Linked DNA regions of Homo sapiens: region 2 is linked to region 1. Evidence: promoter capture Hi-C in 16 types of primary human blood cells and fetal thymus (Javierre and others, 2016). All regions are on one chromosome and are shown on one strand. Each heading gives the region's core, a stretch centred on a gene start or on the middle of the fragment in contact. The rest is flanking DNA. Distances are from core to core; before and after follow the strand shown.

The links. Contacts are between HindIII fragments. The CHiCAGO score rates a contact against its expected background, and 5 or more counts as called.
Region 2: a contact is called between a fragment that was not itself captured here and the fragment with the promoter of TPRG1L in region 1, in 1 of 17 cell types (fetal thymus). The highest score is 6.6, in fetal thymus.

What each region holds. Positions count from the first base shown.
Region 1 is chr1:3,621,382-3,627,776 of GRCh38, forward strand. TPRG1L (tumor protein p63 regulated 1 like) reads left to right here and starts at 3,634. Exons shown (of 5, transcript NM_182752.4): 1 at 3,634-3,892; 2 at 4,043-4,134; 3 at 4,332-4,508; 4 at 6,119-6,272. The coding sequence starts at 3,692. It also overlaps a transcript of MEGF6 not described here. RefSeq lists enhancers at 2,908-3,027, 4,008-4,670 and a silencer at 3,478-3,707. The HindIII fragment of the contact is 13,719 bases long and covers 1-6,395 here.
Region 2 is chr1:2,190,099-2,195,032 of GRCh38, forward strand. It overlaps FAAP20 (FA core complex associated protein 20), which reads right to left and starts at 4,674. Exons shown (of 4, transcript NM_182533.4): 1 at 4,590-4,674; 2 at 3,900-4,035; 3 at 3,541-3,812. The coding sequence starts at 4,651. LOC112268219 (a long non-coding RNA gene) reads left to right here. Exons shown (of 1, transcript NR_168005.1): 1 at 1-2,360. RefSeq lists an enhancer at 1-44 and silencers at 4,429-4,518, 4,529-4,934. The HindIII fragment of the contact is 2,752 bases long and covers 2,309-4,934 here.

The DNA of each region.
Region 1 (6,395 bases), core at 2,384-4,883:
TTCTGGTCACTTCTCACCATGTCCCCTCAGCTCCCATCTCTGTACGGCCTGGTTTTTTCTAGGTTATGATTGTAGAGCGAGGATTATTATAATATTGGAATAAAGAGCAATTACTACAAATTAATGATTAATGATATTTACATATAATCATATCTATGATCTAGATCTAGTATAACTCTTGTTATTTTATATATCTTATTACACCGGAACAGCTCGTGCCCTCGGTCTCTTGCCTCAGCACCGGGGTGGCTTGCTGCCCACAGGCACTGACTAGTGGAGCTACGAGAAGGGGGACACTGTCCTCCAGACCCCAGAATGGTAGATCTACCAGCAGCTTGCACCCTGCACCTGGAAAAGCCGTAGGCACTCAGGGGCAGAGCTTCCCAAGGCCTTGGAAGCCCACCCCTTGCATCAGTGTGGCCCTGGATGTGAGACATGCAGTCAAAGGAGATTATTTTGGAGCTGTAAGATATAATGACTAACCCACTAGATTTTGGACTTGCATGGGGCTTTTAGCCCCTTTGTTTTGGCCAAATTCTCCCTTTTGGAATGGGACCATTTACCGAGTGCCAGTACCTCCATTATACCTTGGAAGTAACTAACTTGTTTTTGATTTTACAGGTTCATAGGCAGAAGGGACTTTGTCTCAGATGAGACTTTGGACTGTGGACTTTTGAGTTAATGCTGAAATAAGACTTTGGGGGACTGTTGGGAGGGCATGATTGGTTTTGAAATGTAAAAAGGACATGAGATTTAGGAGGGGCCGGGGTAGAATGATATGGTTTAGCTGTGTCCCCACCCAAATCTCATCTCGAATTGTAATCCCCACATGTCGAGGGAGGGACCTGGTGGGAGGTGATTGGAGCATGGGGGCGATTTCCCCCGTGCTGTTCTTGTCATAGTTCTCACAAGATCTGATGGTTTAAGTGTGGCACATCCCACTACCCCCGCCGCCATGTAAGACGTGCCTTGCTTCCCCTTTGCCTTCCGCCATGATTGTAAGTTTCCTAAGGTCTCCCCAGTCATGTGTAACTGTGAGTCAATGAAACCTCTTTTCTTTATAAATTACCCAGCTTCAGGTAAGTTCTTCATATTAATAGCAGTGGGAAAACAAACAAACACAGTGACCTTATTTGATCAAACATGATGATGATCGACTAAAGATGAGGTCACTAGGGTGGTCCCTAATCCAACAGGGATGTTGCAGAAGAGACCCACCTGGAGAAGGTCGTGTGAAGATGGAGGCAGGGATGGGAGCAGTGCATGAGCAAGCCCAGGACACCAAGCAGGCCTGGCAGAGCAAGACATGCGTCAACCCTCAGGGCTGCAGAGGGAGCATGGCCCTGCACACTCCTTGATTTTGCACTTCTGGCCTCCAGGGCTATGAGGAAACACGTTTCTGTTGTTTTTAAAACAGTTGTTGTTTTTAAAACCAGTTTGTGATGCATTGTGACAGAAGCCCCAGGAAACTCATCCATACTGAGTGAAATTTGTTTATTGTCTAAAATACAGTCCCTCCATCATCTATCCCTCCTATCATTTCTGGAATTTATAGACATCCAAGTCACTCCCCATATCCACAGAAGGCTCAGGCACCTGGTTCAGAATCCTCATTGTCCTGCCAGCTCCCACCAGCAGTCTGCAGCCTCGGCCCCAGCCAGTGTCACTTCATCCCATTCCCTGGACATCTGGTTCCAGGACCACAGCTCCATCCTTGGCGTGGTCCAGAACTTGCTCCTACCTCTCTCCCCCATTCTCCCTCTTTCTCCCCCCCATTCTCTCTCCCTCTCTTTCTCATTCTCCCTTCTCCTCCCTCTTTCTCCCTCCCTCTCTCTGGAATCTCTGGTTCCAGTTGCCCATCACTGACTACAGCTTGCAGCTGTCCAGGTATTTCTCATCTACATCCACTCAGCTCCCTCCCGGCCTCTGTTCTTCCTCCCTCAGGGGTATTCTCCCACTCACCAGCACCTGTTGGATCCGCGGCCATTTCTAACCGGACTGGATACTTGGACCTCAAGGTCCCCGCTGGTAAGATAGCTGGGAGACACTCGTCTGTAGGTCCCTCTGGCAGGTCTTGCTGGGCGTGCCAAGAACACATTGCCCTGACCACTCTTTTCTGGGCCATTTCTCACGCCTGTGCTTGCAGTGGGCACCCTTGCCGGGGAGACAGCCTCCCTGTGGGACAAAGACCACATTGGTCCACAGGATCCAGGGTCCTGTTTTGTAGTGCACCCGCTGTGGTGCAACATGCGTCTGGGCACACCAGCGTCGCCCGTTTCCTGTTGTAGTCTTTCCTCTCTGACTCCAGGGGTATTGGGTCTTTCTGCCAGCGCCCATGCAACTTTGGCAGCCTGGCCTGTCTGCTGGCAAGTGGGGCAGAATCCCTGCACTCCACCATTCTTGGGCAACACTCCCTCTAGGATTTTGGCCTCCCTTTTCTCTCTGGTCTTTGACCACCGCTACCCAGCAAACTCCTCCATCTAGACCAGCCAGCATTGGTTTCTTCCACTCCCCCAGCTGCCGCGTGGGAGGCGCCACTGCAAACTTCCCTGGGGTCTCCCAGCTGCTCAGAGATCCCCATGCCCTTCCCTGATCAGCTCCCTGCCCGGTTCTCATCCCGGCGATTCTAAACCGTCCATCTTTACAAATACTCCGCTCCATCCCCACTCCCTGACTGAAGTAAACAGATGTATCCTGAACTCCTCATTCTCCCCCCATCTCACTCTCCTCGCCTGTGTGCACCTCGCCTCGTGTGTCTTCCTCACCTCCGAGCAGAGGGATCTGTCCTCCTGCCCGAAGGTAACCCTGACCCCTGGACTCTGCGCCTCCTTCCCGCAGCCTCCACCAGATTGCGGGTCCGTTCACCGCCCCCCTCCACACGCGCTGGGGGCACCTCCGGGAGCTGGGGCTAGCGCAGGGCACACACATGTTCCACCTCGAACTGCGAGCGCTGACCGGGATCTCTGGGCAGCCCTCTCTGTGTGCACTGGCTTGCTGAAGGCTCGCGACAGCCTGGGCCCGGGCGCGCATTCCAGCACTTTCTACCCTCCGGCTTCAGAGTGCATTGCTCTGTGGATCCGTCACGAATAAGCCGTGTGTGAAGAACGCCAGGTCCCGGCAGAAGATCGCTGCCCGGCGTGCGAACTCCCCCACGGTGCACCAGGGCCGCCGCCCTGCATCCTCCAACCTCAGCTCCCCGGCACCGCGACCCTCCGTGCAGTGCGAGCCCCCGATGGGCGCGCGCCCCCACCTGCGCTCCAGAAGGCCGAAGGGGGCATCCCACTTGCAGGGCGGGTCACCCGCTTTCCCCGCGGGCCAAGGGGCTCCAAGATTCCCAGCCCCTCCTTCCCAGCCGCTCCGCGACACCCTGGCAACCGGCTTCGGCCCCGCCCCTTCTCGTTGTGTAAACAGGAAGTGAGCCTGCGCGTGACGGTCGCTTCCGGCCCGGCGAGGGGCGGGAGCGATTGTGAACGGCGGCGGGGCAGAGCCAATCGCGGAAAACGGCAGGAGGAGAGCCAATCCCGAGGGTCGGCGGACGCGGGAAGGGGCGGAGCCAGAGGCGGGGCCGGCAAGGCGGAGCCAATCGCGGCGGTCCGCGGGGCGGGGCCGGGGGCGCGGCCGGGTGGTGGCGGTGGCTGCGGCGACGGCGGTCGCGTCGGCGTCAGGGTCGGGGTCGGTAAGGGGTGCGGCAATGCTGCAACTGCGGGACTCGGTGGACTCGGCCGGTACGAGCCCCACGGCGGTGCTGGCGGCCGGCGAGGAGGTGGGGGCAGGCGGCGGCCCGGGCGGGGGGCGGCCGGGGGCGGGGACGCCGCTGCGCCAGACACTCTGGCCTCTCAGCATCCACGACCCCACGCGCCGCGCCCGCGTCAAGGAGTACTTCGTGTTCCGGGTGAGGCAGGGGCCAGGGCCGGGGCGGGGGCCGAGGGCGCGGGGCGGGATGGGGGCGGGTGGGGTCGGAGGCGGGCGCCGGGCGGTCCCGCAGGGAGCGAGCTGTGACCTGTGATCTTTGCCCCCGTCCCCCACCCCGCAACCCGCCCAGCCCGGCAGCATCGAGCAGGCAGTGGAGGAGATCCGCGTGGTGGTGCGGCCCGTGGAGGACGGCGAGATCCAGGGAGTGTGGCTGCTTACCGAGTAAGCCGGGGCTGCGCTCTCCTTGGTGGGGGGACTCGCCCCGAGCCGCCGCGCAGCACCTTGCGAGGACTTCCCGGGGTGCTCGTGCCACGCTCAGGCGCCCCGTGCCGCCCCTGCTGCCCTTCCAGGCGGGCTGGCCTTGGCTAAGTCGAGACAGCCGCGTCCAGTGTGGACTGAGGCCCCTCCTCTGCCTACAGGGTGGATCACTGGAACAATGAGAAGGAGCGGCTGGTGCTGGTCACGGAGCAGTCCCTGCTTATCTGTAAATACGACTTCATCAGTCTCCAGTGCCAGCAGGTGGTGCGGATAGCGCTCAACGCAGTAGACACCATTTCCTACGGAGAATTCCAGTTTCCCCCTAAATCGCTCAACAAGTAAGCCTGTTCAGAGTCCAGTATCACTGGACCTAAGCACCAGAGTGGACCTTACAATTCAGCCCTTTTAAATCAGCCCCCCAAGCGGTGTGTCTTCTCTGTCATTAATTATAAGCACAAAGGCTCCAGCTCCAAATATCAATGGGAAGTTCCTTAAAAAGAAGCGACTTCTGGGCAATTGAGTGCATTAAAAGGAATTCTGGCACAGAAGGCAGCTATTAGGCTGGTAGTAAAAAGACTTACATGAGTTCAGGATGCATTGAAGTAGAGCCCAGCGTGTTAAAAAGGAACTTGGATGTTCTTCAGGAAAAGTCCAAACTCTGCATTTTTCTCCAGCCAGGGACAGATTGCATATGACACATCAAGTCTTGCTCTGGCTAATTTTTTAAAGAGAAATGGAGGGTCCCGTTGTAATTTATAGATACCACTAAAAGACAAATTTGGAAATATTTAATGACCAGCTTTCAGGAGTTGATCTTTTTGCTGTAGGATAATTTTCTGACGTGAGGAACCTAAACATTACTACAGTCAGTTAAGCTGTAGAACTTGGGTTTTTGATGGAGAGATTTGGATGGGGGATTCAGGAAGCTAAAATAAAAATTTTACCTTTTGGTTAAAACATTTAATATGACATAAGGAAAAGGAAGATTACACTTCCTTTTCACTCATTTGGCTAGCCTATCTATAATTATTCCCTTTTTTTTTTTTTTTTGAGACGGAGTCCCACTCTGTCACCCAGGCACCAGTGGTGCAGTCTTGGTTCACTGCATCCTCCACCTCCTAGGCTTAAGTGATCCTCTCACCTCAGCCTCCCAAGTAGCTAGGACTACAGGTGCCCGCCACCACACCCAGCTAATTTTTGTATTTTTTGTAGAGATGGGGTTTTGCTAGGTTGCCCAGGCTGTTCTCAAACTCCTGGGCTCAAGAGATCCGCCCATTTTGGCCTCCCAAAGCGCTGGGATTATAGATGTCAGCCACCGTGCCCAGCCAGTATTCCTGTTTATTAATTTTTAATCATGTAAAGATTACCAAAATAATACATTTAATAACCAAAATATACCTAATTTGTCATATTTATACCCACAGTATTTAAAGCAATTGTTAGTGGAGATTGAAGTTACTACTAAAAACCACAGGCCGGCCAGGCACGGTGGCTCACGCCTGTAATCCCAGCACCTTGGGAGGCTGAGGCGGGCGGATCACCTGAGGTCAGGAGTTTGAGACCAGCCTGACCAAAATGGATAAACCCTGTCTCTACTAAAAATACAAAATTAGCTGGGTGTGGTGGTGCATGCCTGTAATCCCAGCTACTCCGGAGGCTGAGTTGGGAGAATCGCTTGAACCCAGGAGGTGGAGGATGCAGCGAGCCAACATCAGGCCACTACACTCAAGCCTGGGCAACAAGAGCAAAACTCCATCTCAAAAAATAAAAATAAATAAAAACAAAAATAAAAACTACAAGCCGTTTTCCATTGTGATATGTCATAGGTCTTTTCTGTAAACGTGTGCTTTTTGCTGTCATATTCTCCTAACTGATGAGACTGTCAGATTGTCCATGAGAGCACTGTGGCCTGCCATGCTAAGTCTGGCTATTTCTTCTGACTTTTCAGGCGAGAAGGTTTTGGGATTCGAATTCAGTGGGACAAGCAAAGTCGTCCTTCCTTCATAAACAGATGGAATCCCTGGTCTACCAACGTGCCCTATGCCACTTTCACAGAACACCCGATGGCTGGCGCAGATGAGAAGACAGCATCTCTGTGTCAGGTAAGAAGACAGGCACATAAATAGCCGCGCCCCCCGCAGTGATGGAAACACCCCCCGCAGTCACGGAGACACTTCAGGTCTGCACTGTCCGGCGGCCACGCGGAGCTGCCGAGCACTTGAGAC
Region 2 (4,934 bases), core at 2,435-4,934, 1.4 Mb before region 1:
CCGGCAGACAGGCGGCCTGACCCGGAGAAAAGGCAGGACGGCGGGTGGCCTGCCAGGGAGAGCCGCCGCGGCTGCGTCTACAGGAGGCAGAAGAGTAAACATGGCTGGGCAGTGGATGTGCAGCTCACGTCAGAGAATTGGTGTTTCTGGCGAGGAGGGACCAAGCCTCACCACGGAGAAGGACGCCGTCACCGGCGTGCAGGCTGCCAACCTGCCACTCTGGGAGGCCCCACGCGGCCCCTGCACCTCTCAGGAGGGCGCTGGCGCTGGGATGGTGGCCGGCCAGGCAGGGGTGGCAGGAGAAAACCCATCCGAGTCCTGCAGGTCAGCGCCCTGGGCATCCAGTGGGGCCGGGAGGGGTGTCTGAGCGCAGCCACCTTCTATCCCCGGCCTCATGTGGCCCCATCAGCCCAACTGGAGCGGCTGGAAATGACCATCACCAGGCCTGGCCAAGGTGTGGCCCTGGAAGCCAGGACAGTTGACTTCCGGCCATGACTCCCGGAGAGTGCCGGAGCTGGCGTGCTCAGCAGAGCTGCCGGGGACGATGTCCCGGGGCTGAGTGGGCGGCTTCAGCCTAGACTTGGGCCTAGATCTTGCTGGAGGCCAAGTGGTCAGTGTCCCATCAGAGTGACCATCCCTCACACGCCACTGCTGGGGGACACACCCCCACTGAGCGGCCAAGTCCACAGGACACGTGTCCCTGTGTCCACCTGTCAGCCACACCGCCCCTCGCTCCCCTACAGCCTCTGCCCTCAGACCAGTCCACGGCGCGCCGTTTTACCCTTGGGCTTTGCTGTGTCCCTTCCTTTGGCTCCTGTGCCCCGTCTGTGTGGCCACTGCAACCCTCAAGTCCCCCTCTCCAGACCATAGCTGGACCCCCACTCCCGGGGCTGGCTCCAGCAGCCATCAGCTGCCTTCTCACTCTGGCAGAGCCCACCCAGTGCCTTCTGAAGCCCCCGAGGGTCACTCAGTCTGAGACTTTCCGGCTTCTGCCCATCCTGGGAACCAGCCCCTCCCTCCAGAAGCTTTCTCTAAGGTTGCCAGAAGGTGCTAAGATCTGAACCGAGGTCATCTTGTCCCGGGGTTTCCAGGCAGCGTCCCTTGTTTGGGGGCCCTCTGAGATGCCTTCAGACCCCCGCCTGTGGCGGAAGAGCTTTGTCCTGGCCTGATCTGCCCTGTCCGTGACGCTTCTGCTCAGTAGCTGAGCACGCCCTGTGGTGTGGACAGGCCAGCCCGGCTGCAGGACAGTGGGGGCTCAGTCCAGAAGCCTCTGGTGGCTTCTGCGTGTGGGCAGGGGAGCAGGGCTGCAGGGTGGGCTGGCACCTGGCAGCGTGAGGGGCCTCAGGGCTGTTAAAATCCCAACGACCGGCCGGGCGCGGTGGCTCACGCCTGTAATCCCAGCACTTTGGGAGGCCGAGACGGGCGGATCACCTGAGATCAGTTCAAGACCAGCCTGACCAACATGGTGAAACCCTGTCTCTACTAAAAATACAAAAATTAGCCAGGTGTGGTGACGCCTGTAATCCCAGCTACTCAGGAGACTGAGGCAGGAGAATCGCTTGAACCCGGGAGGCAGATGTTGCAGTGAGCCGAGATCATGCCACTGCACTCCAGCCTGGGCGACAGAGCGAGACACCGTCTCAAAAAAAAAAAAAAATCCCAGTGACCAACCCAGGGCCTCGCCACATCAACAGAGACAAAACGCAGCTCTGGCTCTCAACATCCTCACCCCTCACCAGGTGCCCAGCTTCCCATCCACCCACGTGACCCGCAGGTGTCTGAAAATGCACAAAATGTCCAAATAGGACCACAAGAAGATCTTAAAGACACAAAGAACATTCTACATAGTTTGTCAAATCCAGCATTTGACGGTCCTCTGGGTGACCCGGAGAACACCAAGGCTGTGAGAAATGGGAGGCCTCCTGGCAGCTCCACTCCCCAGACCCGCCTCTGCCAGGGCTCCAGGCTCAGCAGGCGCCTGTGCGGGACAGGGCGACGGTTCAAGACCAAGTCCGGCTGTTAGACCAGACCCTCCAATCCAGGCGGCCTCCCTGCTGGGGTCCTGTGCGGTCAGGAGTCCCAGGGCATCCCAGGGTGGCTGTGCAAACCCTTGTTCCCAAAGATATGGGGCTTGTCCCCCAGCTAGCCTGCCCATGCGGTGGCCACAGCCTCGGGTGAGTTCCGGTTCCAAAGTACCGGCTCTCCCTTACGATCAAGTGTTCGAATGTGCTTGAAGCATTCCAGACACACCAAGGCCTGGACCTGACTTCATTGACGCCTACTTAGGAAAAATTGAGGCAGTCTGCCAAGCTTTCAGCAACTGCTTAAAAAGCTCAAAATGGCAAGTTTTTCCTCGTGAACGTCCTTGTCTTCAGAAGTCTTTTTTTAGACTATCTGGAAAAGCAGGCGATGCAAAGACAAAAGCCCCTCCCCGGGGGGCGGGGGGCAGCACCCTGACAGCAACAAGGATCTCAGAGCTTCAGCCAAGAGCATGGATTTCTCCCCAGGGCTCCCAACAGTACCCTCTGTCCGTGATTCAGGGTCTTACTCTGTCACCCAGGCTGGAGTGCAGTGGTGCAATCATACTTCACTACAGCCTCCAATTCCTGGCTCAAGGGAATCCTCCCACTTCAGCCTCCAGAGTAGCTAGGACCACAGGCACGCGCCACCACGCCCAGGCATGTAAAGATGGGATCTTGCCATGTTGCCCAGGCTGGTCTCAAACTCCTGGGCTCCAGCAACCCACCTGCCTCAGCCTCTCAAAGGGCTGGGATTACAGGCGTGAGCCACCGTGCCCGGCCTTTTCTTTTGTTGTTGTTGTTGTTGGCTGCCAACTTTGGACTCCGGTGCCTTCGCATTCCCGAGCTGTTTTTGCTTCTGGAAGACCAGGGGCATCAGGCATGACTGAAGGACCTGGTCTCCATAAGCTCTGAAACCTGCCGCCCATTAACTCAACCAAAAGTTACGAACCAGCATCATTCACACCACCCCAGCCCCAGGACCTGCTCCGGAGGCCAAGGGCCCAGAGGTCGCCAGACACAAGGCCAGGCACTGGGCAGTTTGGGTTATCTTGTTAGCAAAACTGGGTTCCATTCCCCTTTACTTAAAAAATACATAAAAATATACGTTGGGTTTCAAAAATAAGAAAAAGCATCTCCAGACAAAAAAGACGATCTTCATTTTTAAAACCCATGACGCACTCTCGGGAAGGTGTTCCTGTGCTCTGGGCCTGGGGACGCTGGTGCCACCAGATTCCAGGATGGCCAGGTGGACCCGGGGCCAGTGCTCCCAGCCTTCCTTCTGTGCTGTTCTGTGGGCCCCCAGCCTGCCCTGCCCACAGAGCACGGCAAGCAGGTGGACCCCAGACCCGTGACAGAGAGCCACCTGGACATGCCAGGCCACAGCACTGGGCCACCTTTCCAGTGTGAAACAGGGCTTTAAAAGCCAGCGCTGAGCTCGGCCACCTCTTGACCTTCTGAACGGCTGTGGTTTCCAAACACGGATGGATAACCGGGCCGGGCGCAGGGGTGGCCTACTCACCTGGGGGCGAACTCCTTCTGGCACATGGGGCAGCTGCGCAGGGCCGCGGCACCCTCCACAGACGGCTGCTGCTCCACCCTGGGGGCCCTGCAGGGATCAGGTGCCGGGCGCTGGGGCAGGGACCTGGCGGGGGATTCCAGGTGCCCTCCTGCCCCGTGAAGCAGCCGGTAGGAACGGCCCGGGCCCCACAGGTCCGGCGGAAAGGGTGTCCAGGAAAAGGTCTTGGGTCCGACAGTGAAGACTTCAGTGGGCTCCGGGCCGCACCTGGGCTCCTGCAACACAGAGTTGTTGGGCCTTGCCCAGCGATGGCTCCCGCCCTGGAAACCCCTTCATCGCTAAGATGGGCCCAGTGGGCACACCTGTCCTGGGAAGGCGGGCAGTGAAGGCACCTCGTGATCCAGGATCAGCTCCGGGCTCACCGTGCGCAGTAGCTCGGCCCAGAGCCGCTCCCGCTCATCACCCCCCAGGAGAAACCAGGGGCGGCCGCCAGAAGGCCTGGGGCAGACAGAGAGGGCAGACAGGGGGTACTCAGTAGCGGAAACGCTATGGTGGGGAGACCCGGGAGGGCCTGGGGCAGAGAGAGCGGGGAGATGGGGGGTACTAGAGGGAAATTCGATGGTGCGGGAGGTGGCCGGCAGGGTTGGGGGAAGGGCTGCTGGGGCAGACAGTGCGGAGATGAGGGGTACTGGGGGTGGGGGAGCGGGGTGGGTGGGTGGAAATATGGGGTCCTCAGCGGGATGAGGCGATGGTTGGGGAGATTGCGGAGGGCCTGGGGAAGGTAGAGGGTTAGATGGGGGGTGCTCAGGGGAGACGCGATGATGGGAGAGGCGCGGGAGGGCCTGGGGCGGCGCGGGGGAAGCTCGGCGTGGGGTGGGGGCTCAAGGCGGGCGCTGAATGGCGGCGCGGGGTGGGGCGACGGGCGTGGGGGCCGGGCCCGGGGGCAGGGAGCCCTCCCCAGGGGGAGAATAGAGCGGGAGGCCCGCGGGGGCGCCGGGAAGCACGTGGGAGCGGGAAAACCGGCCGCGCCCCCGCCCGGCTCCCGGCCTCACCCGCCCGCCGGGCGCGGCCTCCGGCGGCTCAACCCCAGCCGCGGCCTCCGCGCCGCCTCCATCCAAGCCCGCGCCGGGCGGAAGTGAGCGCAAGCCCCGCCCCCGCCCCTCCAGGCCCCGCCCCCGCCCCGGCCCCGCCTCCAGACCTCTGCAGCGAGGCCGCCCCCCTCCGAGACAGTCGGAACCCCAGGGGCCCTGATCCCAGCCTGTAGGGAAACTGAGGCCAGGGTTCCTTCGTCCTGCACCGCACAGGGGGGCCTGGCGTGAGGGTGGGGGGCCCAGGTGGGGGAGCCCCGCCCGTGTCCCCTTTCCCGTCCGGGCAGCCCCCGGGCCGGAGCCCCCTCC